Linked DNA regions of Homo sapiens: regions 1, 2, 3, 5, 6 and 7 are each linked to region 4. The links are contacts of gene promoters, found by promoter capture Hi-C in blood cells and fetal thymus (Javierre and others, 2016). All regions are on one chromosome and are shown on one strand. Each heading gives the region's core, a stretch centred on a gene start or on the middle of the fragment in contact. The rest is flanking DNA. Distances are from core to core; before and after follow the strand shown. Region 1 overlaps BIRC6 (baculoviral IAP repeat containing 6). Region 2 overlaps LOC107985862 (a long non-coding RNA gene). Region 3 overlaps BIRC6 (baculoviral IAP repeat containing 6). Region 4 holds the start of SLC30A6 (solute carrier family 30 member 6). Region 5 has its middle 31 kb from the start of LINC01946. Region 6 overlaps BIRC6 (baculoviral IAP repeat containing 6). Region 7 overlaps BIRC6 (baculoviral IAP repeat containing 6).

The links. Contacts are between HindIII fragments. The CHiCAGO score rates a contact against its expected background, and 5 or more counts as called.
Region 1: a fragment that was not itself captured here is called in contact with the fragment with the promoter of SLC30A6 in region 4 in 1 of 17 cell types (total CD8 T cells); the score reaches 5.4 in total CD8 T cells.
Region 2: a fragment that was not itself captured here is called in contact with the fragment with the promoter of SLC30A6 in region 4 in 1 of 17 cell types (erythroblasts); the score reaches 6.4 in erythroblasts.
Region 3: a contact is called between a fragment that was not itself captured here and the fragment with the promoter of SLC30A6 in region 4, in 1 of 17 cell types (monocytes). The highest score is 5.1, in monocytes.
Region 5: a fragment that was not itself captured here is called in contact with the fragment with the promoter of SLC30A6 in region 4 in 1 of 17 cell types (total CD4 T cells); the score reaches 5.2 in total CD4 T cells.
Region 6: a fragment that was not itself captured here is called in contact with the fragment with the promoter of SLC30A6 in region 4 in 1 of 17 cell types (non-activated CD4 T cells); the score reaches 5.8 in non-activated CD4 T cells.
Region 7: a contact is called between a fragment that was not itself captured here and the fragment with the promoter of SLC30A6 in region 4, in 1 of 17 cell types (neutrophils). The highest score is 6.1, in neutrophils.

The regions. Positions count from the first base shown.
Region 1 is chr2:32,539,502-32,543,244 of GRCh38, reverse strand. BIRC6 (baculoviral IAP repeat containing 6) reads right to left here. Exons shown (of 74, transcript NM_016252.4): 62 at 1-4. Among named protein-coding and RNA genes, the nearest start is that of MIR558, 9.2 kb to the right of the region's middle. The HindIII fragment of the contact is 238 bases long and covers 1,680-1,917 here.
Region 2 is chr2:31,687,681-31,691,831 of GRCh38, reverse strand. All of the region lies in intron 2 of LOC107985862 (a long non-coding RNA gene), which reads left to right. Among named protein-coding and RNA genes, the nearest start is that of SRD5A2, 110 kb to the right of the region's middle. The HindIII fragment of the contact is 2,051 bases long and covers 1,798-3,848 here.
Region 3 is chr2:32,560,403-32,564,271 of GRCh38, reverse strand. All of the region lies in intron 65 of BIRC6 (baculoviral IAP repeat containing 6), which reads right to left. All of the region lies in intron 1 of BIRC6-AS2 (BIRC6 antisense RNA 2), which reads left to right. Among named protein-coding and RNA genes, the nearest start is that of BIRC6-AS2, 12 kb to the left of the region's middle. The HindIII fragment of the contact is 6,417 bases long and covers 1-3,869 here.
Region 4 is chr2:32,164,390-32,168,005 of GRCh38, reverse strand. It overlaps SLC30A6 (solute carrier family 30 member 6), which reads right to left and starts at 2,142. Exons shown (of 14, transcript NM_017964.5): 1 at 2,103-2,142. The coding sequence starts at 2,105. It overlaps SLC30A6-DT (SLC30A6 divergent transcript), which reads left to right and starts at 2,267. Exons shown (of 1, transcript NR_185886.1): 1 at 2,267-2,965. RefSeq lists an enhancer at 306-822. The HindIII fragment of the contact is 4,145 bases long and covers 1,279-3,616 here.
Region 5 is chr2:31,832,469-31,836,574 of GRCh38, reverse strand. No RefSeq gene overlaps it. Among named protein-coding and RNA genes, the nearest start is that of LINC01946, 31 kb to the right of the region's middle. The HindIII fragment of the contact is 6,628 bases long and covers 1-4,106 here.
Region 6 is chr2:32,464,325-32,468,399 of GRCh38, reverse strand. It overlaps BIRC6 (baculoviral IAP repeat containing 6), which reads right to left. Exons shown (of 74, transcript NM_016252.4): 25 at 3,577-3,891; 26 at 3,236-3,335; 27 at 661-875; 28 at 289-497. Among named protein-coding and RNA genes, the nearest start is that of MIR558, 66 kb to the left of the region's middle. The HindIII fragment of the contact is 1,401 bases long and covers 1,669-3,069 here.
Region 7 is chr2:32,506,415-32,510,458 of GRCh38, reverse strand. It overlaps BIRC6 (baculoviral IAP repeat containing 6), which reads right to left. Exons shown (of 74, transcript NM_016252.4): 51 at 2,200-2,479; 52 at 465-721. Among named protein-coding and RNA genes, the nearest start is that of MIR558, 24 kb to the left of the region's middle. The HindIII fragment of the contact is 6,562 bases long and covers 1-4,044 here.

The DNA.
Region 1 (3,743 bases), core at 549-3,048, 380 kb before region 4:
TCACCTAAAGAAAAAGAAAAGTGTTGGCTTGGCCATTCACATTTTCAACATCAGATTCAAAGTAAAGACTTAACTTTAAATGATCTCTTTAAAATATAGGATTATAAGGATTAATAAAGCTGCTTGCTTTAAAAAACAAGCTTCCAGCCGGGCGCAGTGGCTCACGCCTGTTATCCCAGCACTTTGGGAGGCTGAGGCAGGTGGATTACTTGAGGTCAGGAACTCGAGACCAGCCTGGCCAACACGGTGAAACACCGTCTCTACTAAAAATACAGAAATTAGCCAGGTGTGGTGGTGCACACCTGTAGTCCCAGCTACTCAGGAGGCTGAGGCAGGAGAAACACTTGAACCCAGGAGGTGGAAGGCACAGTGAGCCAAGATCACACCACCGCACTCCAGCCTGGGCAACAAAACTATCTCAAAAAAATAAATAAAAATAAAAACAAGCTTCCAAACATCAAGACGCACATGACAGCAGAAGTATGGCAGTGTCTGCCAAGTGTCTCTACATTAGTTATTAATTCCACCTTTATAATTAGTTAAGTATCTATATGCAGATTCTTGAGACTATTTAAACATCTTATTTCTCACCAAACTTTTGATCAGTCTTAGCATTTTTATAATTGTGCCTGAAACAATTATTACTAAAGTGGTTAAGAAAAGGAGAACTTTCTAATTCTGTCATTCTTTCTACATTTATTAGTTGGCACCAAGCTATAAGGAAAAATATTCTCTTCTTATCCATTAATTTTTATCAGTATAGATTCTAACTTTATTACACTGTTACTATCATTATTAATTTTGATGCCTGAGGGGAATAAGATTTTGTCTCTGAGACGCCATTAAAGCAGGATCCTACTTCCTTATAACTTGTCCCCCATCGTTCTTTGAGCACTTCCTTGCTTTCTAGCACAGCAAAACATTCTAGGCTCATGTTCTACCTACTCTTCCTCAGTACTAGAATTTCTCCAAGGAGCCCTGATTTCCTTTAGTAGAAAATTTTTAAAATGACAATATGGGAGATATATATGCATATATCACTAGGGGGAGTCTGCTTCTGGGTCCTATCAGCAAACATACCTAGAAAATACATGTATGTATACATGTGTAAATATATATATATATATAGACATAATTTCTAGCATGTATTCTTCAAAACTGTCAAGGCCATGAAGGCCATGAAAGATAAATAAAGATAGCAGAATTGTTACATATGCAAGACTACAAGACAACAAAATGCAATATATGATCCTGAACTACCAGTATCCTCAAACCACGCAAAAGAAAATTGATTTTTCTTTGGCCCTAAAGAACATTAGAAGGACAGGCAAAAGCTGAATAAGATTTGCAGTTTATAGTACAGAGTCAGTGTGAACTTCTGATTTGTATAACTGTATATGGTTATCCAAGAGAAGTTTTCTGAACTTAGGAATAAAGGAGCATCATGTCTATAATTTAATCTTAATAATTCAAAGAAAAACTCCAATTCTGAGCATGGTTGCCCTACAAACTTCTCATTGCATTTAGAAATACTCTACTTATCTTGCTTGACCATGAATAATGCACTTCACTAAATACTAATTTGAAGTTCCACACTCAAACATATAATTAAATGAATAGTGAGCTAATCACAGAGTTATCTCACTATTCACTTCAAACATCAGGATGATTCCTAAGCTTCCTGTATGACTTTAGTAGACTGATAGGTAACTCTGTGGGGTGATTTTTAAATGAATGGTGAGGTAACTCTGTGATTAGTTCACTATTTCTTCCTTCTTTTACATATATATGTAGAAGTCTTAAGCTGATCTACAGCTTAGATCAGTCTTAAGTTGATCTACGGCTACACTACATGCATCTGTACACTGAATAAAACAGGTGCAATTTTGATGCCAGCTTATTTTCACTACTGAAGCTTAGGCCAGAATGACAATATGAAATAGCCTAATTGTAAGAACATAGGAATTTGAGGCACTTTTCACTTCTAAACCATTTTGAAACCCTTTATAGGCAAATTTTTAAAGATCCTCTATATTTATTATTTTATGCTGCACAGAAGATAGTTTCATATAAAAGTACCTATATAATAGAACATTGTTACAGAAGCAGAACTTTACCTCATCATAATTGTTTTCTTAAAGGACTATTCTCATATGATGCCACAAAACAAAACAAATACAATGAAAGCAAAAAGACAGCAAAATCAAAGAGCTCTCAATTTATAGCATTCAAATTCTTTAACAAGTGAAAGACCCTCAACTTCACGAAAATCAGAAGAGCAAATTAAAACCACTATCATATATTTCCCATCACCCATTATACAGATACAAATTTTTAAGTCTTATATTAGATATGTATACAATTCTTCACAACTTTTTTCATTATAGCTAACAACTGGAAATAAAAATGCTAGTCAACATTAAGACTAATACACACAATAAGGTATAGTTAAATATACAGCAAGTATGCTAGAGCTATACAAATGAGACCACCACAGGCTTAGGCATCAACAAAGATTAATTTCAAAATACAGGTTCAGCAAAAGCACCAAACAGTAGAATATAAACTGATATTTACATAAATGTCACAAGTATAACGATTCAAACAGAACTGTTTTAGGGTATTAATATTAAGTGGATTTAATTTTTTAAAGTATTATATTCACTTGTATTATTTCACATTTTGAAAGTCAAAACTGAAAAGTATATGAAAACATGCTTTTTGCTCAATTAACAACAAAGAAATTTTATTTCTGATATACTAGGATAAAACAGCTCAATTTCCCAAAGAAAAGACTCTAATAAGGACGTGCTCACTTTGAATAATGTCTAAAACACAAATAAATTATTTTAAATTAGATGAACAGGATATGATTTATATCACAGGCTTTTAGGAATTACGATATTCCAACCATGTGATGTCTTTAATTCTGATACTCATTATATGTCACAGCAAACTGAGAAGACATGATACTTTCTAAAGTAGTCAAATGCTCCAATTTAAGAACAAAAAATGAGTTTCAGTTTAAATTGGAGAAACATGGGATTAATGTGATTTCAAAATCATAACCATGGTACTTAAAAATGAAAACAGACTAAAAATTCTGTATGTTTGATTACAATTCTGCATAAGTGTATACATACAAACGTATACATGCACTTCTTCTACTGATTCTGGTTGTGTTTTTCAAGGAATTTATCCATTATATCTAAGTATCAAATATGTTGGCATAAAGTTGGTTATAATAGTACCTTATTTTATTCTATAGAAATTATAATAATGTGCTTGCTATCATTTGTGGATGTCCAATTTGTGTGGTTTTCCCTTTTTCTTGAAAATTTTTCATAGTTTATCAATTTTACTAGAAGTCTCAAAAGACAAAATGTACGACTTTCTTGTTTCTCTTTGATTTTTTTGTTTTATATTTAATTGATTCTGGCTCTTACTGTAGTAATTCCTTGCTTCTGATTTTTGGTTAATTGTACTCCTGTTTTTCTAGTTTCTTGAGGTGGCAGTGTACACCACTGATAAATCTCCTCTTTTAATTATATGCATTTAAAGCTATAAAATCTCTCTATAGACTGCTGTAGCTATATCCCATGTCATGTTGGCATTATCGTTTTGAAATATCTTGTAGTATCTATTGTGATTTCTTCTTTCATCCATGTGTTACTAAAAACTATACTGCTTAGGTTACACATATTTGAGGTTTTCTAGATCTTACCGCTATTGGTTTCCAATTT
Region 2 (4,151 bases), core at 1,574-4,073, 480 kb after region 4:
GTTACCTTTTTCTGTAGACTATTACCTCCTGACTCTCAATACCTGTTTTCCTTTGAAGATCTCTCTGGCCAAACTGCCCAGTTAACATGGATGGTGCTACCTCTGGGATTTTGACACAGTCCTCACTTGTTTGAAAAGGCACCATCAAAGGACCTTTCTGAGTTTTCGTATCCTGAGGTCAGAATCTTGCAATATGTAGATGACCTTCTGCTCTGTGTCCCAACTTAGGAAGCTTCTCAGGAAGACACAGAAGCTCTTCTTAATTTCTTAGCTGACAGAAGATATAAGGTTTCAAAGTCCAAGACCCAGCTTTGCCAAACCTCAGTAAAGTACCTGGGTTTAGTGTTGTCTGAAGGGACCAGAACATTAGGGGAAGAAAGGATTAAGCCCATTTCCTTCTTCCCCCTCCCTAACACCTTCAAGCAACTAAAAGGATGTTTGGGCATATAGGATTTTGCAGACTATGGATACCTGTGTACAGTGAGCTAGCTCACCCCTTATATCATCTCATAAAGGAGACCCAAGTGGCAAAAACTCATTTCCTAACTTGGGAACCTGAATCTCAAAAGGCCTTTAATCATCTAAAACAAGCCTTTCTTAAGGCATCAGCCTTCAGCCTTTCCGTAGGGAGGGCCTTCAATCTTTATGTATCAGAAAGGAAGTAAATGACCCTGGAAGTTTTAACTCAAGCTCAAGGACCAGCTCAACAGCCAGTGGCCTACCTGAGTAAGGAACTTGATTTGGTGGCTAAAGAATGGCCAGCATGCCTCTGAGCAGGGTTGCCATGGTGACCTTACTCGTACCAGAAGCCACCAAATTAAAACTCCCCTAGAAAATCCAGACTGGACCCTCTTTACGGATGGAAGTTCCTGTGTGGAGCAAGGAGTCCGTTAGGCAGGATATGTCGTAGTCACTCTGAATGATGTTATTGAAACTGCACCCATCTCTCCAGGCACAAGCACTCAACTAACTGAACTGATAGCTCTTACAAGAGCACTCAAATTAAGCAAGGGAAAAGTAACTAACATTGGCACTGACTCCAAGTATGCTTTCTTAGTCCTTCATGCTCATGCTGCCATCTGGAAGGAAAGGCACTTCTTTACAGCTAATGGGCTCTCTATAAAATACCATCAGGGGCCGGGCGCGGTGGCTCACGCCTGTAATCCTAGCACTTTGGGAGGCCGAGGCGGGCGGATCACGAGGTCAGGGGATCGAGACCACGGTGAAACCCCGTCTCTACTAAAAATACAAAAAATTAGCCGGGCGCAGTGGCGGGCGCCTGTAGTCCCAGCTACTCGGGAGGCTGAGGCAGGAGAATGGCGTGAACCCGGAAGGCGGAGCTTGCAGTGAGTGGAGATCGCGCCACAGCACTCCCGCCTGGGCGACAGAACGAGACTCCGTCTCAAAAAAAAAAAAAAAAAAAAAAAAAAAAAAAAATACCATCAGGAAATTAACAGGTTATTATCCTCTGTTTTCCTTCCACAAGAGACAGCAGTGATGCATTGTAAGGGACATCAGGGGGAACAGATGAAATAGCTGAAGGAAAAAAGTTAGCTGATCAGGCAGCCAAGTCAGCAGCAATTAAGCCTCAGGTTCTTAACACACTCAAAACCTCTCTAATCTGGGAAGGCTCTGTAAGAGAAATTAAGCCCCAGTACTCCCCTCCAGAAATAGAATGGCCATTTCTTGAGGGTACACTTTCCAGCCCTCAGGGTAGCTACAGTCAGAGGATGGCAAACTCCACTTGCCAGCCTGTAGTCAATAGAAAGTCCTTAAGACCCTCTCCTCTACCAAGCTTTTCACTTGGGAAAGGATAAAACTTATCAGTGTGCCCAGAGATTGTTTACAGGGGAGAACTTATTAAGAATAGTCAAATATGTTAATGCTTGTGAAGTCTGTCTTAAAAATAATCACCTCAACAGGCAGCTCCTTCCTCCTTAAATCCAAAGGATGGGAAGCTATCCAGGGGAAGACTGACAGATAGATTTTACCCACATGCCAAAGATGAAGGACATTCAATACCTCCTGGTATGGGTAGATACTTTCACTAACTGGGTAGAAGCATTTCCATGCTATACAGAAAAGTCGTCTGAGAATAAAAGTGTTAGTTAATGAAATAACTCCCCACTTTGGTCTACCTAAATACCTCCAAAGTGGCAATGGCCCCTCATTTAGGGCAGCCGTCACACAGGGGATCTCAAAGGCACTAGGCATACAGTATCATCTCCATTGTGCTTGGAGATCCCAGTCCTCAGGAAAGGTAGAGAAGACAAATGATATTATCAAAAGACACCTCAGAAAACTGTCCCAATAAACTCACCTTCCTTGGGTCACTCGTCTTCCCATGGCTTTATTGTGGGTAGGAAATACCCCTTCAAAGTTAGGTCTAAGCCCTTTCGAGATGCTGTATGGATGGCCTTTCCTTACCAGTGATTTTTTATTAGACCAGGAAACCTCTGAATTGGTTAAGCATGTAACCTCTCTGGCTCCCTTTCAACAGGAATTAACACAACTAGCAGAAGCCCAACCCCAAGAAACAAGGCCACCTTTATTTAACCCAGGAGATTTTGTATTGCTGAAAGCTCTCCCTTCTCTCTCTCCTTCCCTAAGCCCAAGCTGGGAAGAGCCCTACACTTTTCTTCTTTCAACCCCCTTGGCGGTAAAAGTTACAAAAATTGACTCCTGGATACATCACATTCAAGTCAAAGCCTGGAAGGCTGAGGGAGCAACTGCTGACAGCCTAGAGGAATGTCCCTGATATCAATGCAAAGAAATAGGAGATCTTAAGCTGAAAATCAGAAAAGATAAGTAAATGAGTAAGGGTTACTCATCCTACTAAGTCTCACCCCTAACTTATCAGATACTTCTGGTCATTTCTACATTTCCTCTCAAAATTCACTGTCAGATATTAGAACTTCTTTTTGGTGCATACTTGCAGGAAGATTTTGATTATCCATGGGATTAAATTTGTAAATTCATAAACCCCCCAAGGGAAATTCTATATCTTAGTCAGTAAAATTTTAGATGGAAATTATGTATTATGCCACTCTTGTGGGAACTGCTATACTCACTCTACTATTTGCAGTAGGACTATACACTGTGGCACCTGCAATGTGGAATTCTGGTTGCAAAATTTTAATTGCTGTAATATTCTGCCTAATTATCATGTTTGTAACAAGTAATTATATAATAATTACAGGAAAGATTTAGCCAAAATTAACACTAAAGTTACTCTAGCCACCCAATCCAATGTCACTTATCCTAAGAAAAACATTGCTTTTATATTAACGCTTCTGGTAAAGTACAGCGACATCTGGTGGAGGCAAACTAGTATTACAACCAATCGGAATGGCTAACAGCTGTCAAACCCTATTGTCATGGTTATGGCCTATACTACCCCCACTAATAATGGTAATCTTAATACTCATATTCGAGCCCTATATTCTAAATCTTCTTGTAAAATTTATCTCTTCTCACTTAGAAGTTATTAAACTCCAAATGGTGCTGCAGATGGAACCATGAATGGACACACCTTTCTTCTGAGGATGCTTAGATTGACCCCAGGAGGAGCCCTAGCTGTTTTTCCCCACACAACACCCCTTTTCAGCAGGAAGTAGCCAGAAAGAGTCGTCATCCAACACCCCCTAACAGCAGTTAGGGTTACCACTCCTGAGAGGGGAAATATGATAGAGGAGATAGAAAGGAATTATTTAGGCAGATAGTGAAGGTAAAAGAGTCCTCAGCAGGGCTTCCTTTTAAACAAAAAGCATCCCCCCAAATCGTTTCTTTTTTAACAAAGAGCAGTCTGAAAAATTGAGCTGCAAATATAGATAAGCAAGGTGGAAGCTTGCATGGGTGAATGCTGGAAGCTGTGCCAATAGAAAAGGGCTGCCTGGAGGACAGACATATCCAACATGGATGCTCCATCTTCCCTTTGTTTGTTACCACATGTACAATAAAGAAACAGGCAACATGGCACCAGCAGGCATAGGATCCAATTGCATAATAAAAGATTAGGGTGGGGACAGCCAGCTTTTCGTGCCCTATGCAAACAGCACACCTAGCCTTAACCAGTTTTTCACACCTTACATAAATGGCACATCTAGTCCAACCAATCTTTTTTGCCCAATGTAAATCAGGCACCACCTCCT
Region 3 (3,869 bases), core at 1,053-3,552, 400 kb before region 4:
AAACATTTTGCTGCATGGAAAAAGCCAATTTAAAAAGACCACATATTATATGATCCAATTTACATAAAATATTCAGAAAAGGCAACTCTATATAAGGATAGAAAGTAGATTATCAGCCGCTTAGTGCTAGAGAAGATGAGGGGATGGAAGATGATAACTAAAGGGTACAGGGTTTGTTTGTTTTTTGTTTTTTGAGACAGAGTTTCACTCTTGTTGCCCAGGCTGGAGTGCAATGGCACAGTCTCAGCTCACTGCAACCTCCGCCTCCCGGGTTCAAGCGATTCTCCTGTCTTAGCCTCCCAAGTAGCTGGGATTACAGGCGCCCACCACCACACTCGGCTCATTTTTTTATTTTTAGTAGAGACAAGGTTCACCATGTTGGCCAGGCTGGTCTCGAACTCCTGACCTCAAGTGATCCGCCCACCTGGGCCTCCCAAAGTGCTGGGATTACAGGCATGAGCAAATGTGCCTGGCCAAGGGTACAGGGTTCTTTATGAGGTGAAAAAAAAAAATTATCAAATTCACTTTGGTAACAGTTGTACACATTTGTGACTATAATAAAAATCAATGAATTGTATACTTTAAATGGGTGAACTGAAGGGTACCGAATTATCAACCATTAAAGCTGTCACTAAAATTTTTTTCTCTTAAGTACTTATTCATATACATTTGCTCCTTTTTATACTGAAATATTTATTTTCTTCAATTGCTTTAAAACACTAATACGAGGAAAAGCACCCAGTAAACATTGCATATATTTTATAAATGTTTTTATTTTTCAAATATAGGAAAACATAAGACTTGAATGTACAATCATGTAGCCTCTTTTCAACTTGAGACTGGCACAATAATGAAGCCTTAGAAAAAACCTTCCCTATTCCACAGTTTTCTCCTGCCCCCCCATTTTAGCTACATCTGCTGGAATGGAATCCACAGTTTTGAATGATTTCCCTGTCTACATCGAAATATTTGAAAAATCAGAATTTATACTGATAAAAATATAGCCAGGTACCCAAAGATTACCATTTGCACTGCTTTATAAACTCATTTAGCAAAGTAGTGCACATAGTATTTCACCGTTCTCAACCCTCTTCATGTAACATACAAAGAGAAACAGAACAGAGGACACATTGTTCCAACCAAAACCCCAGCAAGTTATTTTGTGGCTATCAATCAAATGATTAAGTTTCTATGGAAAGGCAAAATACGTAGCATAGCCAGCACAACATTGAAGAACAAAGTCAGAGGACTGACACTATATGACTTGACCACCTGACTATAATGCTGCGACAATTAAGACAATGTGGTACTCACGAAAGAATAAACAAATAGATCAGTGAAACAAAACTGGGAATAAAAATCTGTATGTGAATGTTTATAGCAGATCTATTCATAAATGCCAAAAAAAGGAAGCAATCAAGATGTTCTTCAAAAGGTGAATGAATAAACACTTACATGTTCATACAATGGAATATTTTTCAGCGATAAAAAAGGAAGCAGCCACCAAGCCATGAAAACACATGGACAAAACTTAAATGTATATTATTAAATGAAAGAAGCCAATCTAAAAGGCTAGATCTTATGATTACAACTATATGACATTCTGAAAAAGGCACAACTATGGAGACAGTACAAAGAACAGTGGTTACCAGAGGTCTGGGGATTAGGAAGGGATGCAGGATTAATAGAATTTCTTAGGGCAGTAAACTCTTCTGTGTGATCCTGTCATGGTGGAATACATAAAATTGCGCATTTGTCAAAACCCACACAACTGTAGAACATAAAGAGCGAACTCGAATTTCAACTATAAATTTAGTTAAAAATAACATACCACTATTAGTTCATCAATTATATGTACTACACTAATGCAAAATATGAATAAGTAAACTGTGAGTAGGAACTGCATATATGGGAACTCTGTACTATCTGCTCAATTTTCTGTGAACCTAAAAATACTCAACAGCAATTTAGATAAAATTATAAAAGAATACAAGTAATACAAGATATGTTTATGTTTTAAAAATTAAATTATTATGAAGGTATTAAGAACAACCAAAACCACAAAATGAGAATCTTCTTCTCCATACATGAATAATGAAGACAGTCTAGCATGCTAAAGTTCAATAAGGAAGAGAAGGGGAAAAAGAGATCCCACAAATTTGCAAGCACAAATATAACTGATAATTCCAATTGTTAAAATCTAGAAATAATAATAATTTTATTTTTTTTTAAGTTGGAGTCTCACTCTGTCACTCAGGCTGGAGTGCAATGGCATGATCTCGGCTCACTGCAACCTTCACCTCCCGGGTTCAACCAATTCTCCTGCCTCAGCCTCCCGAGTAGCTGCGATTACAGGGGCCCACCACCACGCCTGGCTAGTTTTTGTATTTTTAGTAAAGACGGGGTTTCACCATGTTGGCCAGGCTGGTCTCGAACTCCTGACCTCGTGATCCGCCCGCCTCAGCCTCCCAAAGCGCTGGGATTATAGGCGTGAGCACTGCCCCCAGCAAAATCTAGAAATAAATAAATAAATATATATATATATATACATGATTAAAGCATTATTTCTTCATATAAACATAAAAGATAATCCCAGAAACTTTAAAAAAAACTTTAGGTTCAAAAAAAACCTTGAATATAATTTACAACTAAAAAAAAATCAAAATAAAATGAAATCGAACGATTTCAAATTTCATAATTAATGAATACTAATTAGAAAGTATATCACTCATGAGCGGGCACAGTGGCTCATGCCTGTAATCCCAGATATTTGGGAGGCCGAGGTGGGCAGATCATTTGAGGTCAGAAGTTGCAGACCTGCCTGGTTAACATGGTGAAACCCAGCCTCTACTAAAAATACAAAAATTAACCAGGCGTGCTGACACGCCTGTAGACCCAGCTACTCAGGTCGCTGAGGCAGGAGAATCACTTGAGCTTGGGAAGTGGAGGTTGCAGTGAGCCAAGATCGTGCCACTGTCCTCCAGCCTGGGCAACAGAGCTAGACTCCATCTCAAAAAAAGAAAAAAGAAAAAAAAAAAAAAGTATGTTACTTGGAGGTCAATTTTTTTTTTTTTGAGATGTAGTCTCACTCCGTCACCCAGGCTGCAGTGCAATGGCATGGTCTCGGCTCACTGCAACCTCTGTCTCCCGGGTACAAGTTACTCTCCAGCCTCAGCCTCCCAAGTAGCTGGGACTACAGGCACGTGCCACCACGCCCGGCTAATTTTTGTATTTTTAGTAGAGATGGGGTTTCACTATGTTGGCCAGGCTGGTCTCGACCTCCTGACCTCGTGATCCACCCGCCTCGGCCTCCCAAAGTGCTGGGATTACAGGTGTGAGCCACCGCCCCCGGCCTACTTGCAGGTCAATTTATAAAGCACGAGATGTTGCATAAAAAAAAAAAAGTCGGGCACAGTGGCTTATGTATGCAATCCCAGTGACTCAGGAGGCTGAGACAAGAGGATTGCTTAAGGCCAGGAGTTTTGAAACTAGCCTGGGCAACATAATGAGAACCTATTTCTACAAAAAATTTTAAAACTTAGCTGGGCATGGTGGCAGGTGCCTGTAGTCCCAGCTAATCAGGAGGATGTTTGAGCCTAAGAATTGAAGGCTGCAGTGCCCTATGAGCACACCACTGCACTCCAGCCCGGGTGGCAGAGAAGACTATGACTGAAGAAGAAAAAAGAAAAAATATATAGTTACATTATATTCACATGTAAACAAAAGGGCATAGAGAAAACAACACAGCTCCTCTGAAATAAATGAAACATGCTATTCCCTCTTATTTAACTGGTATATATTTTACTCTATTGAGTTAGCATTAGGAGAGGCCAACTGGGAATCTTACATTATGGAAATAGAAGAAGATA
Region 4 (3,616 bases), core at 893-3,392:
TACAAAGCTCTGGGAATTAGGGTGAAATACATAGGTCCTGCTCTCAATGAGCTTACAGTCTAGAAAGTGAGAAAGACAAATAAGTACACAACTTTAACATCGTCTGTAAGGATTACAGATGTTACTGGTAAAAAACACAAGAGATTCAAGTTTTACTTTCTTAAATTAGGGCTGTGAGTTAATGAAGGTGTATAATCTGAAAGACCTCTGAATTTTAAGTCTCTTATCCCTTTATCTTCAACTCCCTTCAAATCATCAGTATTATAGGCAAGTTAAGTTTCTATTGTATGTATTCGTTTTGTGCAGCTTTATGTAACAAAACTGGTGTGTGTGTGTGTGTGTTTGTGCATATAAAAGCACAAGGTACCACCAGAGCACAAAGGAGAAGCAACTAAGAGGATACTGGAACATGAGGGAAAGGTTCATGAAAAATAATTAAGGATATATAAGGGTTATTCTGATAAGGACAGCCGATAGAGAACAGAGAACAATTCTGGGGATGGAAGAGCATATGCAAATTAGGTACAAAGGCTCAATTAATACAGCATGATTTGCAAGCTATTCACTGTGGCTGAAATACGGATGTTGCATACATGTATGCATTAAAAAAAAAAAAAAAAAAAGAGTTTGTGGCCTGGCACGGTGGCTCACGCCTGTAATCCCAGCACTTTGGGAGGCAGAGGCGGGAGGATCACCTGAGGTCAGGAGTTCGCGATCAGCCTGACCAACATGGAGAAACCCCGTCTCTACTAAAAATACAAAATTAGCCAGGCGTGGTGGCGCATTCCTGTAATCCCAGCTGCTCGGGAAGGTGAGGCAGGAGAATCGCTTGAACCCGGGAGGCGGAAGTTGTGGTGAGCCGCGATCGCGCCATTGCACTCCAGCCTGGGCAACAAGAGTGGAACTCCGTCTCGAAAACAACAACAAAAAAAGAGGCTGTAAAAGTAAGAAGCTTGATAATGAGTGGCTTTGTATGCCATGCTAAACAGGACTTTATCTTGAGTGCTACAGAAAAAAAAAAAAGGAGAAAATTTGAGTAAGGGAGTGATGTGGTCAAATTTTAGAAATATAACTCTGGCTACAGGCTTCACAATGGTGAATGTTTTGAAGAAGAGCGTAACTGAAGGCTATTTGATCATTAGCCAAAAAGTGTAAACTTTTACCCATTTTCTGTGTGCAAAAGGATTACAGAAAATTTACAAAACATAAAGTGTGTGAATGAGGCATTTTCCCGACCATATCCACTTAAGTAAAAAACTTAGTACAGTGACAAAAGCTTAGGCACAGAAATGTGGTCTCTTTCTCATACGTAGGCTATCAATAAGTACTCCATAAATTTTTCTAATAAATGCATTTTCAAAAGGCACACGCCACTTGGACACTTCAAATCCCAACCAACTGCTTATCTTTAAAGTTCAGAGCTATATATTTGAGCTCTAAAGGCAAAGAATGACTAATTCTAACAAATTTGAGAGAAAACACCATATCCCAACAACCATAACGTCTACTGGGTCTTCCATTAGTTTCTACAAACCCAGAAATAAAGCAGCAATAAAATGTCCTACCAACACCTTGACTTTCTGTAGTTACTGCGCTTATGAAATTTGCTGCCGTAATCAGGCTACTTAATATTTAGTAAAGCCAAGTTGCAGAGTGAGACGTCTGCCCTAAAACCCTATTACTAACCTTTTTTTTTTTTTTCCGCTGGCGTTATCGCCACTGCTCTAAGAATCACTATTACAGTTGTTGCTGTGGACTTGTTTTCAGATCTTTTGTTGGTGGCCTAGTTGTTGACGCTGGCAAAAACTTTTATTACCTTAAAGAAATCTCGGCAGAGGGAAGTCAGAAACTCGCCAGGAGCTGAAAGCTCTGCCTGCAGCGGGGCCTAGATCGTGAGCGCCTGCGGAACAGGTGAGGGACCGAAAGGGACCAGAACTCTGAAGGGGAACATTTTGGGAGACAGCCGCTCCTGCCAAGGGGCCCGACTTCAACTCCAATGACCCCTCCTCTGGGTGGCTGAGGGATTTCAAGGTCGCTTCGGGACCAAATAAGATAAACCGAATCAGCTACAGCCGAAACCCTCACCCCAACAGCCAACTCACCATGATAAGGAGCTGCACAGCTCCCGCCGGAAGCCGTTCTGGGTGCTCGAGTTTTCCCAGAACGGAAGGGGTGGGGCACCAGTGGGCGATTGGCTGTGAGGAAAGCGTGGGAGGAAGTGCGTGCTCTGGCCTCCGGCTTCCGTCCCCTTCCCGGCTGTCCCTGCACTCCGTGGCGGAAGGCGGCTAGAGCGGCTCCCTCTGAGCTCTCCGAGAGATTGGTCGGGACCTGAAGCGTTGAGGTTAAGGGCAAGGCAAGGAGCAACGAGGAGTTTTTCGTTACGTTAGAAAAATTTCGTTGCGTGCTGAAGCGCTTTTACCTGTGTTGTATGATTTAACCTTATGAAAATGGACAGTATTCCAGTTTTACAAGTGAGGAAAGAAGATTAAGAAACTTGCCTCCGCCAGGCGTGGTGGTTCACTCCTGTAATCCCAGCACTTTCGGCGGCGAGGCAGGCGGATCACTTGAGGTCAGGAGTTCGAGACCAGCCTGGCCAACATGGTGAAACCCCGGCTCTACTAAAAATGCAAAAATTAGCCGGGCGTAGTGGCACGCGCCTGTAATCCCAGCTACTCTGGAGGCTGAGGCAGGAGAATCGCTTGAACCTAGGAGGCGGAGGTTGCAGTGAGCCGAGATCGCGCCACTACACTCCAGCCTGGGCGACAGCGCGAGACTCCGTCTCAAAAAAAAGAAACTTGCCTTGAGTCCTACATATAGTTTGCTGTAGTAGCAGAATTTGAACTCGGACCGACTAATGGTCTACTTAATAAAATGCTATTTGGATTCTCTATAAAATTAATAATATAGAAGTAATGTTAATTATAGAAAACTTGGAAAATATTAAATTCATTCGATAAAGATTGAATATGTAGCACGTGTGTTTGTCAGATACTGGTCTCGTGAAAATTATATTCTGGTAGGGAAGACAGAAAACAAGTAGGGATAAAGAAATTTTTAAAAGATATTCATAAGTAGTGTCGTGTAGAAAACTGGGTATAGGTTGAGTATCCTTCATCCCAAATGCTTAAGACCAGAACTGTTTCAGATTGTGGCTCTTTATCTTGGGGATGGGGCCAGAGGCTAAACTTGAAATTCATTTATGTTTCGTATACACCTTATGCACATAGCCTCAGGGTAATTTTATGCAATTTTAAAAATTGTGTGTGTATCAAACAAAATTTTGACTACAGCTTTTTACATGCGGTCAGGTGTGGAATTTTCCACTGTGGCATCGTGTTGATGATCAAAAAGTTTTGATTTTGGAGCATTTTAATTTCAGATGGTTGGATTAGGGTTGCTGAACATGTAATGGTATACAGAACAACTGAGTAGGTGTGGTGCTCACGTCTGTAATCCCAGCACTTTGGGAGGCCTAGGCGGGCGAATCACGAGGTCAGGAGTTTGAGACCAGCCTGGCCAACATGGTGAAACCCTGTCTGTACTAAAGATAAAAAAAATTAGCTGGGCGTAGTGGCGGGTGCCTGTAATCCCAGCTGCTAAGAAGGCTGAGGCAGGA
Region 5 (4,106 bases), core at 610-3,109, 330 kb after region 4:
TCATGTTGGCCAGGCTAGTCTTGAACTCCTGGCCTCAAGTGATCCACCCGCCTTGACCTCCCAAAGTGCTGAGATTACAGGCGTGAACCACTGTGCCCAGCCAATCCTATGTATTTCATAGTATACAGTGATAATCTTAGAGTGAATATGAAAAAAAGCCTCTAAACTTCCTTAACACAGACTATCAATCATTTAATAGCTGAATATTTGGTGTGAGTGGGATAATACTTGATATAGCATTCTTTGGGTATAGACCTTAAGTTTTTCATAGGTTTTCTCATGATTTTGCATGTGAACTAAACTGTTATATCTCTATCACATTCATTGAGAATCCATTATGTACTAGACATTTGAAAAGGAGAGTAAAAACTGGTTTAGAATAACTAGTCTGGAATAATTTCAACAGGTTCTTTGAGGGTTTAATTACAAAGGTTTGATTGCAGGCCGACTCAAGAAATTGAAAGGGGAGTTTTAACAATTTTAAAGTTTTACTTCAGTGACATAAGCAATAGTAAAGTTGACAATCCTTAATCCAAAAATTGAAATGCTCCAAAATCTGAAAAGTGTTTGAGCAAAGACGTGACACCACAAGTAGGAAATTCCACACCAGACCTCATGTGACAGGTCACAGTCAAAAAGCAGTCTAAACTTTGTTTCATGCACAAAATTATTAAGAATATTATATAAAATTACCTTCAGGTTATATGTATTAGGTATATATAAAACATGAATGAATTTTATGTTTAGTCTTGGATCCCATCCCCAGGATATCTCATTATGTCTATGCAAATATTCCATAATCTGAAAGAAATTCAAAATTTGAAACATGTCTGGTCCCAAACATTTCAGATAAAGGATATTCAACCTTTAGACGCAGCTCTATAAATGCCTACTGAGAGTATCAGAAAGATAGTGTTAACTTGCATGGTCTATTTTTGGGTTGCACTTATGAAAATCTCTTGGGCAAGGACAAAACCAGACCTTTATAGGCAACTAAGACTTACCTTCATACATGTAGAGATAGATATACATACATGTGTATAATAATAACTATTATAATATAATTGTATAATATAACTACTATAATAACTATAATAACTATTATTGCTAATGTTAGTGGCAGTAGTAGATATAAATGATGATGTAGACACCATAACATAAAAAGATGTCTATACCAGTAGAATCTATTCAGTGAGTTTATAGTGTAATCATGGGCTAAATCAGACTGATATAAATTCTATCATGTAGATTATAAAATTTACATAATAAAGTTTGCAATCTACCCATCTGACAAAGGGCTAATATCCGGTATCTACAAGGAGCTTAAACAAATTTACAAGAAGAAAACAACTCCATCAAAAAGTGGGTGAAGGATATGAACAGACACTTTTCAAAAGAAGACATTTATGTTGCCCACAAACATGAAAAAAAGCTCATCATCACTGGTCATTAGAGAAATGCAAATGAAAACCACAATGAGATACCATCTCATGCCAGTTAGAACGGCGATCATTAAAAACTCAGGAAACTAACAGATGCTGGAGAGGATGTGGAGAAATAGGAACGCTTTTACACTGTTGGTGGGAGTGTAAATTAGTTCAACCATTGTGGAAGACAGTGTGGAGATTCCTCAAGGATCTAGAACTAGAAATAGCATTTGACCCAGCAATCCCATTACTGGGTATATATCCGAAGGACTATATATCATGCTACTATAAAGACACATGCCCATATATGTTTATTGGAGCACTATCCACAATAGCAAAGACTTGGAACCAACCCAAATGCCCATCAATGATAGACTGGATAAAGAAAATGTGGCACTTATACACCATGGAATACTACACCGCCATAAAGAAGAATGAGTTCATGTCCTTTGCAGGGACATGGATGAAGGTGGAAACCATCATTCTCAGCAAACTAAAACAAGAACAGAAAACCAAACACCACATGTTCTTACTCACAAGTGGGACTTGAACAATGAGAACACATGGACACAGGGAGGGAAACATCACACACGGGGGTCTGTCAGGGCATGGGGGACAAGGGGAGGGATAGCATTAGGAGAAATACCTAATGTAGATGATGGGTTGATGGGTGCCACAAACCACCATGGCACATGTATACCTATGTAACAAACCTGCACGTTTTGCACATGTATCTTAGAACTTAAAGTATAATAAAAAAAAAAACTTCAAAAATAACTTCAAATGAATAATAAATGTGATAGCTGCACTATTATGGTGAACTTGAGGTTTAGAGAATGGTTTTTCCATGTCTGAGTTGCAGAGATATTACTAATACTATACAAGAATAATTTCTCCATCTTTTCTCTGAAGTGATAGACAACTGTCTTCCTATGAGACAGAAACTTGGAGCTTTCTTCCTTTTAGTTAATAACCAATTTATAGCTGTCTTTAAACTTTGCATCCTTCTTTTCTAAAAAGAAAATCTAAAAAGGAAATCTATCCTGGTTAGTATAGCAGTGTTTTTCAAGTGTTTTAAAAATATGGGTTATATATAAAATTAGTGGTTTGCAGTAAATTTTGAAAAGTGCAATAAAATAGAAAATAGAGTGCACCACACAAAGTAAAGTATTTTATGCATCAATACACACACATGTATATACATAAACATATTAGTCCATATGCAAAACATGAGAGACAGTGTATGAAGTGACTAAGGGCATGGGTTCTGGAGCCACAGGGCCTGTATTCAAATCCTGGTCTGGTTACTTGTCTTTGGACAAGTCACTAAGTGCTTCAAGTTACTCATTTGTAAAATCGAGATATTAATAACCTTACAGGATATTGTGAGGATTAAATGAGCTACCACATGTAAAGAGCTTATAATTTATAAGGCACTTTCTATACACATATACATACACCCTATTTATACGCACATGTGTAGTGAGGGATATGTGTGTGTGTGTGTGTGTGTGTGTGTGCACGCGTGCACTATGTTCTAATGTAAAATATGTTTCTTACTCTGAGTCGTGGTTTTAAAAGATATGAAAGCTACTGGTTTATCGGGTGGCTGGCATTGTGGGTGGATATGGAGTGATGAGACCCTGGTCCTGGTCAATATTCTGCCAATTCCTGTGTGACCTGGAACATGTTACTTAACCTCTCTGTCCTCATTGCCGCATTGTTCTCTCTCTCTCTCCCTCCCTCCCTCCCTCTCTCTCTCTCTCTCTCTCTCTCTCTCCTACTTCAGCCTCTTCAGTAGCTGGGACTATAGGTGTGTGACACCATGCCTGGCTAATTTTTTTATTTTTTTGCAGAGACAGGATCTCACTATGTTCCCCAGGCTCTCATTGTCTTTTTCTTAAAGGTAATTAGACACTAAATTATCCTAAATGTGCCAATAAACAATATAATTCTATGCTTCTGTTAATCTTTCTGGTTCTTCCCTCTCTCCCCTTTTGAGAAAAATGGGAAGTTCTTTATGGATTGTGGATTATGAGTTTTGACCTTGGCCAGGATGAATGAGTGAGGATTAGGTACCTGAGGAAAAAGACACCTAATAGGGACTCTCCATATAGAATAGGGACTAAATGACCTTATCATATTCTTCCTCTGAGGGGAAGTTGAATGTGGGAAGAGAGGCAACATTTGAGATGCATAGAGGAGACATCAGAATGAAAGAGAATGAGAGCCAGTGTGGTGGCATGTGCCTGTAGTTCCAGCCACTTGGGAGGCTGAAGCAGGAGATCACTTGAGCCCAGGAGTTCAAAGTTACAGTGAGCTATGGTTGCGTCACTCCAGTCCAGCTTGGGTGACAGAGCAAGTCCCCTGTCTTTAAAATAATAATAATACCAATAAAAGAATGGAAGATAGAGAAGTGTGGCTGTAGTATCCTTCAAACTGTAATAGAAAAAGGTGGCCTGTAGAATCAGTGCTGGTGACAAAGTTATGCTTAGCGGGGAGAAACATCGGAAACTGCCTTTGATGAGCTATTATGGCTATAGAAACACTGATCTTGAAGACATACCCTGTCTAGTTTAGAAGTGAGACAAAAAGATAGTTGAGGTCAGGGTGAGTCAGGAGAGAAGACGAGTCAATGAAGAGGCAAAGGGGCTTGAGAAACACAAGAAGATATAGGTT
Region 6 (4,075 bases), core at 1,120-3,619, 300 kb before region 4:
ATGTCCTCTTTATGTACATGTACAAATACTAAGAATTAAATCTCTTAAACCTGTTAACATACAACCATTAAAAAGAATTACCCACTTGATAGGTACTAATAAATGGAGCCCATTAATTAATCACAATATTTTCACGCATTAAGTGTTATTGTAACGTGCTAATCTCCTACTTCCTCTTGCTCTCTTATCTGTACACCTATGAAAAGACATTTCTTGACAGAATTATAAGCAAGACATTATATAAAATACAAAGTTTCAATAACATTAAAATTTGCACTCTGTACTAACCTGCACTGTATATCCTCCTGCAAAGCAACCATCATTGCTAAATGCTGGTCAATTTCTGGCTGGTTTGCAGATTCTCCCTCTCCCTTTAGAGGATCATGCATTAACTTCAGTTCACTTTCCCAAGGCAAGATGTAGGTATGACCATAGTAAAATCCTAATGGGATTTTGGCTCTGGCATTTGTACTCCCGTAACGTCCAATAACAGTGATCTGAAATGAAAAATTATAAATATACATATATACACATCTGCCACAATAAAAATCTGAGCAATGTATTTAAAAAGATAGTTATATTTTTTAATTATATATTCATTTTTCATAACTTGTCAGAAACATAGAAAGCGTATCAATTTACTTTCTTAAAGTTCTTTACCTTCATGAATCTGCACACGGGAGGTGGTATTAAGTCATGAAGAATTAGTGAATGAGTGCTTATATCAGTTGCCACTACCAACCGCCTTCCATCCACCTCTTCTCCTAATGTCCAAATGTCAATTGACAAAGAGGCCAAGTCTCCACAAGTGGGAATCAATACATCAGTCAACAATATAGGCCTCCCAAAATCCAAGGTCACAAATCTTCTTGCTCCTATGAGAGAAAGAAGAAACAGTTGACCAAAAATATATCAATTAACCAAATGATACACTCAAAAATAATTTGGAGCACTCATCTTAAAATATGAAAGCAACTCACTAAACTATAAATAAGAGGAAAAGTAAATATGTAAAAATGGCCTTGTCAATTGATTCAAAAATTTTCTGAAATCCCAGTCTGTGTTAGTTTTGAACCCCAAGACGTAAGTAGAAAATTAAGAGTAGCTGGGCACAGTGGCAAGTGCCTCTAGTCCCAGCTACTGGGGGACCTGAGACAGGAGAATTGCTTGAGCCGAGGAGCTCCAGGCTGCAATACACTAGACTGCTACTGCACCTGTGAATAGCCACTATACTCCACACTGGGCAATACAGCGAAACCCCTCTTTTTTTTTTTTTTTTTTGAGACGGAGTCTCGATCTGTCGCCCAGGCTGGAGTGCAGTGGCGCGATCTCTGCTCACTGCAAGCTCCGCCTCCTGGGTTCACGCCTTTCTCCTGCCTCAGCATCCCAAGTAGCTGGCACTACAGGCGCCCGCTGCCATGCCCGGCTAATTTTTTGTAGTTTTAGTAGAGACAGGGTTTCACCAAGCTAGCCAGGATGGTCTTAATCTCCTGACCTCGTGATCCACCCGCCTCGGCCTCCCAAAGCGCTGGGATTACAGGCATGAGCCACCGCACCTAGCCACCCGTCTCTTTAAAAAACAAAAACCAAAACCAAAACAAAACAAAAAAACAACAGTAAGACTGCTACTGTTACAGTTAAGGCAATCAACCACTATACAAACAAGCTTCTTTAAAACATCAGAGTTTTAAAAAATTAAATCAGCAAATGCAGTATATTAGTTAATTTTGTAAAGGATCAATCTGCTCTTCTTTCAGCCATTGGCAACTTTTTTTCTTAATTTCACAACTAGATGCATTTAAATACCAAATAGTATTATTTGATTTAGTTTCCTTAAGCCCTGCTTAACTTCCTGTGAAGTTGCATATTGCATTCATTGGGGTTTAGATCCAAAGTGAAAGCAGGACTACAATCATATATAATCAAAATACCACTGAAAAAGGCCTTGGGAAGGTCCTCTAATGGATCTCAAACAATGCTTTTTCCCAGTATAGACATATCCCAGTCTCTTCAGCTCAATGCCAGATGAGATAGGTAAAGAAAAAGCAGATTTACATCCCTCATTTCACCCACATTACAAGAATAAGTTCAATTAAAAAACAGAAGGCAGATCATTAATAATGTCATAATTCTTTTTCTTCCTTATTGTTTTGGGGTGGGTCAGCTAGTAATCTTACCAGCTACATTTTATAGTGAAGGAAAACAACTAAATTAAACTTCTAGGAATAGTGCTATTCTCGACAGAGCTAGTTTAAAAGAAAACAAGGCAGTTACTAATACTTCCCTAACAAGAAAAATTATTAAAAAAAAAGAAAGAACATAGTTATCCTCCTCAGGAGGCTTATGTACTACAGTCATTGCTATGTATAAAAAAACAAACTACAGTGTAAACAACTGCTCATCTCCCATAAGACTTCAGAATAACAAATTTCCACTCTAAATGTCATCAACACTAATGTTGTTACCAATGAATGATTAGTTGGGCAGAAAATACTGTAAGACTTTTATTTTAGCTTTCAAACTCCCTCTTACAAAGAGGAAACAACCACATTGCAAGAACGCAAATACTATTTAATTCTTCATATAATGATACATGCTACAGTGTATACTATAACCATGTTATTTCCCTGAGGATTTTGTTGAATTCTACTGCTGCTAAAGCACAAAAATGTTGGTGGTAGTTAAAACCAACTGTTTTAAGAGAAAAGTTGCCTAGAGTTTATTCACAAATATGTTGTGATTGAAAGCATCTATCCCAATGTCAGTTCTGTAGCATATAAGCAGAAGACAAACTCAGGTAACATTCAAACTATTCAGAGCCTAGGATATGTTATTATTCTTATCCAGTTATTACAGTAAGCAGTAGTTCTGTTTGCTCTTCTCAAGAAAGAGTTCTACTATAAGAAGGCTAGTTTTAGGAATATTTTGAGTGTAATTTCTAGTATAATGGTGATTTGACCAACTACAATAAATTATTTATGTCAATAATGTATCAGCAGGCAAGATTCATATATAGATCAAATCCATTACTCAACAGCACTCTTTATGCAATTTGGTGAGCACAAAGCTTGAACATGTAAGTGCTTATTCTTGATAAAATGTACTTAACCCAAGAGGAAACGCGATTTGCAAAAAAAAAAAAAAAAAAAATCGAACTGAAGAATAATGAGTCTTTAAAAGGCCGGCAGACTAAGCAAAAAAAAAAAAAAAAAAATTTAAGAAAGTAAAAGATTACCTGAATGCATTCGCTCTATAATAATGGACTGGTGAGGCGGAGGTTGAAGAAAATGTGAAGCATGAGAAATTGCAAGGGCTAGACCAGAACCAAGTGGATTCTAGAGCAGGGAAAAAAAAAAAATCTAACTTTATATTGATATTACTATAGTTCTATAAAAACTACTAACCATAATAGCAAATTAATAAGTTTCTTCTCTTAATGTATGTACTGTAATATTTTATAAAAGAAAATAACTTGATACATCTAGTTGGTATTAAAAATTTTGCCTTCTAAAGTTAGAGTATATTTCAAGATATTTTTAAATGTCTAAGCCAACACCTATTTAAAACATAATTTACCATTCTGGACTTGTTGGAATTTTTGTTATGTGCAGCAAGATTGACTGCTGGGGGATCAATGACTGAGCCTGGGAAAAGCTGTGCAAGTTCGGCATTAATCACAACGGAAACTGCTTCATTGGGTGGAGTGAGTGGTGGAGTCATAAAAAGAGGTGTTGTTTTTGGAGTGGGTGGAATAACATCAGATGGATGAATGAAGAATCCAGGGGCAGCCACTGGGTTGGAAGGCACAGAGTTGTGAACAGGACCTACTGCTGATGCTGCTGCAGCTGCTGCAGCTGTTGTCTGATGTAACTTGGCTTCCAGCTTTGCTTTCTGCAAAAGAAGTAAAAGCAACATATATAGACTAATCCTGCCTACCTAAATTGTGGCAGAATACCACATGGACATATATTATGAAGATAAACATGATTAAATTGATCATACTTAAAGATGAAATTAAATCAAAACTGGACTCGATATAAATGGATCATTGCTTTGCTATATACACTTTAAATGT
Region 7 (4,044 bases), core at 453-2,952, 340 kb before region 4:
ATTGAATTAAGTTATTCATTAAAAATGAGGCTTCCATAAATTCCAACAACACAGAACAAACTCTAAAAATAATGAAACTAGGCTGGGTGCAGTGGTTCACACGTGTAATCCCAGCACTCTGGGAGGCCAAGGTGGGTGGATCACCTGAGGTCAGGAGTTCAAAACCAGCCTGATCAATATGGAGAAACCCCATCTCTACTAAAAATACAAAAATTAGCCGGGTGTGGTGGCAGATGCCTGTAATCCCAGCTACTAGGGAGGTGGAGGTTGTAGTGAGCCAAGATTGCGCCACTGCACTCCAGCCTGGGCAACAGAGTGAGACTCCATCAGAGAAGAGAGGAGAGATAAACATAAACTAAAAGAAAAAATAATTCCCAAAACAGAGTTAAGCACGAAGATCGCACAGTTCAACTGCTGTTACTTTACAGATATGTAAACATTTAAATATCAAAGTTAATTATCACCTGTAGGATCACTGCCTGATGCTGCACAATTTCTCAGGAGAATGTCTATGAGCTTCAGGCCAATTCTAGTAGACTGCAGTCCTATCTTTACAAGCACAACCTCGATGTTGGGTGAATGCATTCCACAGTAAGGTGACATCAATAAGGCCGCACAAGTCTGCAGCAGATTAGCAGTAGGTGCAGCTGCACTTGCCATCATTCCTTCTAGATCACTTATGTGAGTAAGGCAATGATGTAATAACCGTAACCATCCAATACTGAAAATACAAAATGACTTGTATGATCAATATAAGTCGCTCAAATCACTTCGGGGTAGAACATAACTTTTTAAAGATCAGCATGTTGTGTTTCATAAACAGCATTAACCAATCTAAGACATGTTTTTTTAGAATGCTGCAAATTAAGTAAACAGACAGTAAGTTTCCCCTATAAGATAAATCATGGCCAGGCACGGTGGCTAACACCTGTAATCTCAGCACTTTGGGAGGCCGAGGCAGGTGGATGACAAGGTCAGGAGTTCGAGACCATCCTGGCCAACTTGGTGAAACCCCTTATCTACTAAAAATACAAAGATTAGTTGGGCATGGTGGTGGGCGCCTGTAATCCCAGCTACTTGGGAAGGTGGGGCAGGAGAATCATTTGAACTCGGGAGGCAGAAGTTGCAGTGAGTCTAGACTGCACCACTGCACTCCATCCTGGGCGACAGGGTGAGACTCTGTCTCAAAACAAACAGAAAGATAAATCACATACAAAAGTACTTGTATTCATAGCACTTAGACACCATGGGTTTGCTTTTTTAGGCAATCATCCAGAAACTTTCTTTTACATGCAATTATATATACTGATAAACTGATTACTATCATAGACTTCTAAAACTGTGTAGTCTTAGCACCTTGAAAATAGAAATCCTAAATTCTTTTTTTTTTTTAAAGACAGAGTTCACTCTCACCCAGGCTGGAGTGCAGTGGTGGAATCGTGGCTCACTGCAACCTCCACCTCCTGGGTCCAAGCGATTCTCCTGCCTCAGCCTCCCAAGCAGCACACCGCCATGCCCGGCTAATTTTTTGTATTTTTAGTAGTGATGGGGTTTCGCCCTGTTAGCTAGGATGGTTTCGATCTCCTGACCTCGTGATCCGCCCGCCTTGGCCTCCCCAAGTGCTGGGATTACAGGTGTGAGCCACTGAGCCAGGCCTTAAATTCATTTTTATCAGGCAGAACTTTCAATAAAATCCATCTATAAAACATCCAGCTGTCAAAATTTATCAGAAAAATGTTGATTAAAAAATATATTTGGGTCCTTGTTAGTTTGGTTCAGACATAATCCTTCTGTTAACTAACATTTAGGAATTACCATATAAGACTAGGTCGCTGTTTCTAAGGTCAGTTGGTATGGTTCAGATGTCATAGGCTGGTCATAGGCATTTGCAAATTCCCGAAACAGAGTATGATACAAAAAATTACAAGCCAGAAAATTACAATGTACACCTACATGTAGCATACAGATCATCTCAAAGACTAAACATATATACACCTTAATTTTAATCAGTGTCAGCATTCTGTTTCCACAAAACTGTCTCTATTACACCTAATAAAATTGTATTATACAGATACCTATGGAACAAAGACCTTCCTAAGACCTAAAAAAGAAAAAACCCACAAAATAATTAAGTCCCCTATCTCCCAACCATGCCAAAAAAAAAAAAAAAAAAAAAAAAAAAGGACAAACAAAACATACCTTGTTTTGGATACCTGATCTTCAGATGGAAGGAATGGATTATTAACTGTTGCAGAAGAGGTGGTACCAAAAGCAGTGAGCCCCAATAATTTAATTTGTGAAAGGCCTAATGTGCTGGCATCCCGTGGACGATGTAGTCTAAGGCAGACAGCAGAAGCTACTTCGGCTTTTACAAGCTGAATTTTTATGTAGGTGAGGCCACTTGTGACAACAGGAGTGGACAAAGGTAGCATATTTACCCCATCTGCACTTACTTCAACAGACACTGAGGAAGGGCAGGCTATAAAAAGAGAAAACTGAATCATCACAAAAGACAAAGTATACTAGATTGAACAGTTTATTAAAATCCCAGTAAAATAGCAGCTTTCACAGTTGTATTCATCATGAACTTGTAAAAGGAAAACTTATACAACAAAATATAGTTTGACAATGACTTTCACCATAATTAATGTTGGAGCTATTTTTCAACACAAAATATTTGATCTACAATAAAAATTATACTTAAACAGTCTAATATTCACCTAAAAAAAGAGGAACCAAAGATGTGTGATGCACATGTACCTGATGCTCCCTATGAATAAAACCAGCCAAATAGGTAATTATGTCATCATTTCTATTTTACTCAAAATTATCACAAATAATACAAAACTACCTTTGATTAATATGCTATGGTTTACTATTTTAAATAATTTGGGGAAAAATGTAATAAAACTTGTTTATCTACCAATTATTCTATTACTACTAGATTGTGATTTTTTTAAACATTGAGTTTAACCTCACAGCTGAGTTTAGAAATTTTTTTTTGTTTGTTTTGTTTTGTTTTCCTGAGATAGAGTCTTGCTCTGTTGCCCAGGCTGGAGTGAGTGCAGTGGCACGATCTTAGCTCACTGCAACCTCCAACTCCCAGGTTCAAGTGATTCTCCTGCCGTAGCCTCCAGAGTAGTTGGAACTACAGGTAGGTGCCACTACATCTAGGTAATTTTTGTACTTTTGGTAGAGACAGGGTTTTGCCATGTTAGCCAGGCTGGTCTTGAACTCCTGTCCTCAAGTGATTCACCTGCCGCAGCCTCCCAAAGTGCTGGGATTACAGGTGTGACCCACTGCGCCCAGCCTCCTTTTCAAATTAAACCAAATATCCACAGGATTTTTTTTAAAAAATCAATTCTTGCTGAAATTTAAGGAGTCCCCAATGAACTACCAGAAAATTATTTATTTCTAGCTTAACATGGAACCCCATCTAATAAATATGTCAACTAAAACTTTTGAAATTTGGTTTTATTTTTAATTTCAGTGGTAAAAAAAGAAGGAATTACATGCCAGCTTTACACTGATTACTAGACAGTCAAGTTAATTTTTAAATTTCTACTTCAAAACCTTTTGAGGAAAGTATTATCTACATTTTACACAAGCAGACATAGCAAAAAGAGATTAAGTAATCCACGCTCCCACAAGAAATGTCACACCTTAGATTCAAGTCCATGTTTGATTCTAAAGACTGTTATTTCCACTGTATCACAACATATTTTCAACTTCTGCTCTAATCCAATAATAAAACCAAATTTTGTAATCAAGTACACTTAAGTAGGGAACACCTAAACCAATTAATTTTTCACAGGGGTTCCCCCTTCATAATATGCTTCCTGTTTCAATTCCCATATGAAAAATCCAGCTGAACTTCAAAAGCCACCACTTATGACCAAACTCCTTTGCTTTCCAAATAAAAGCAATCTCTTTCCAATTTTAGAGGTAGCCTAAGTCTTACATTGACTTATATTTGCCTTTTAATATAGTTATTTTTGACCTCCTAAAACACCGTGTACTAGCATATTTTCCTTCTACCTTTAT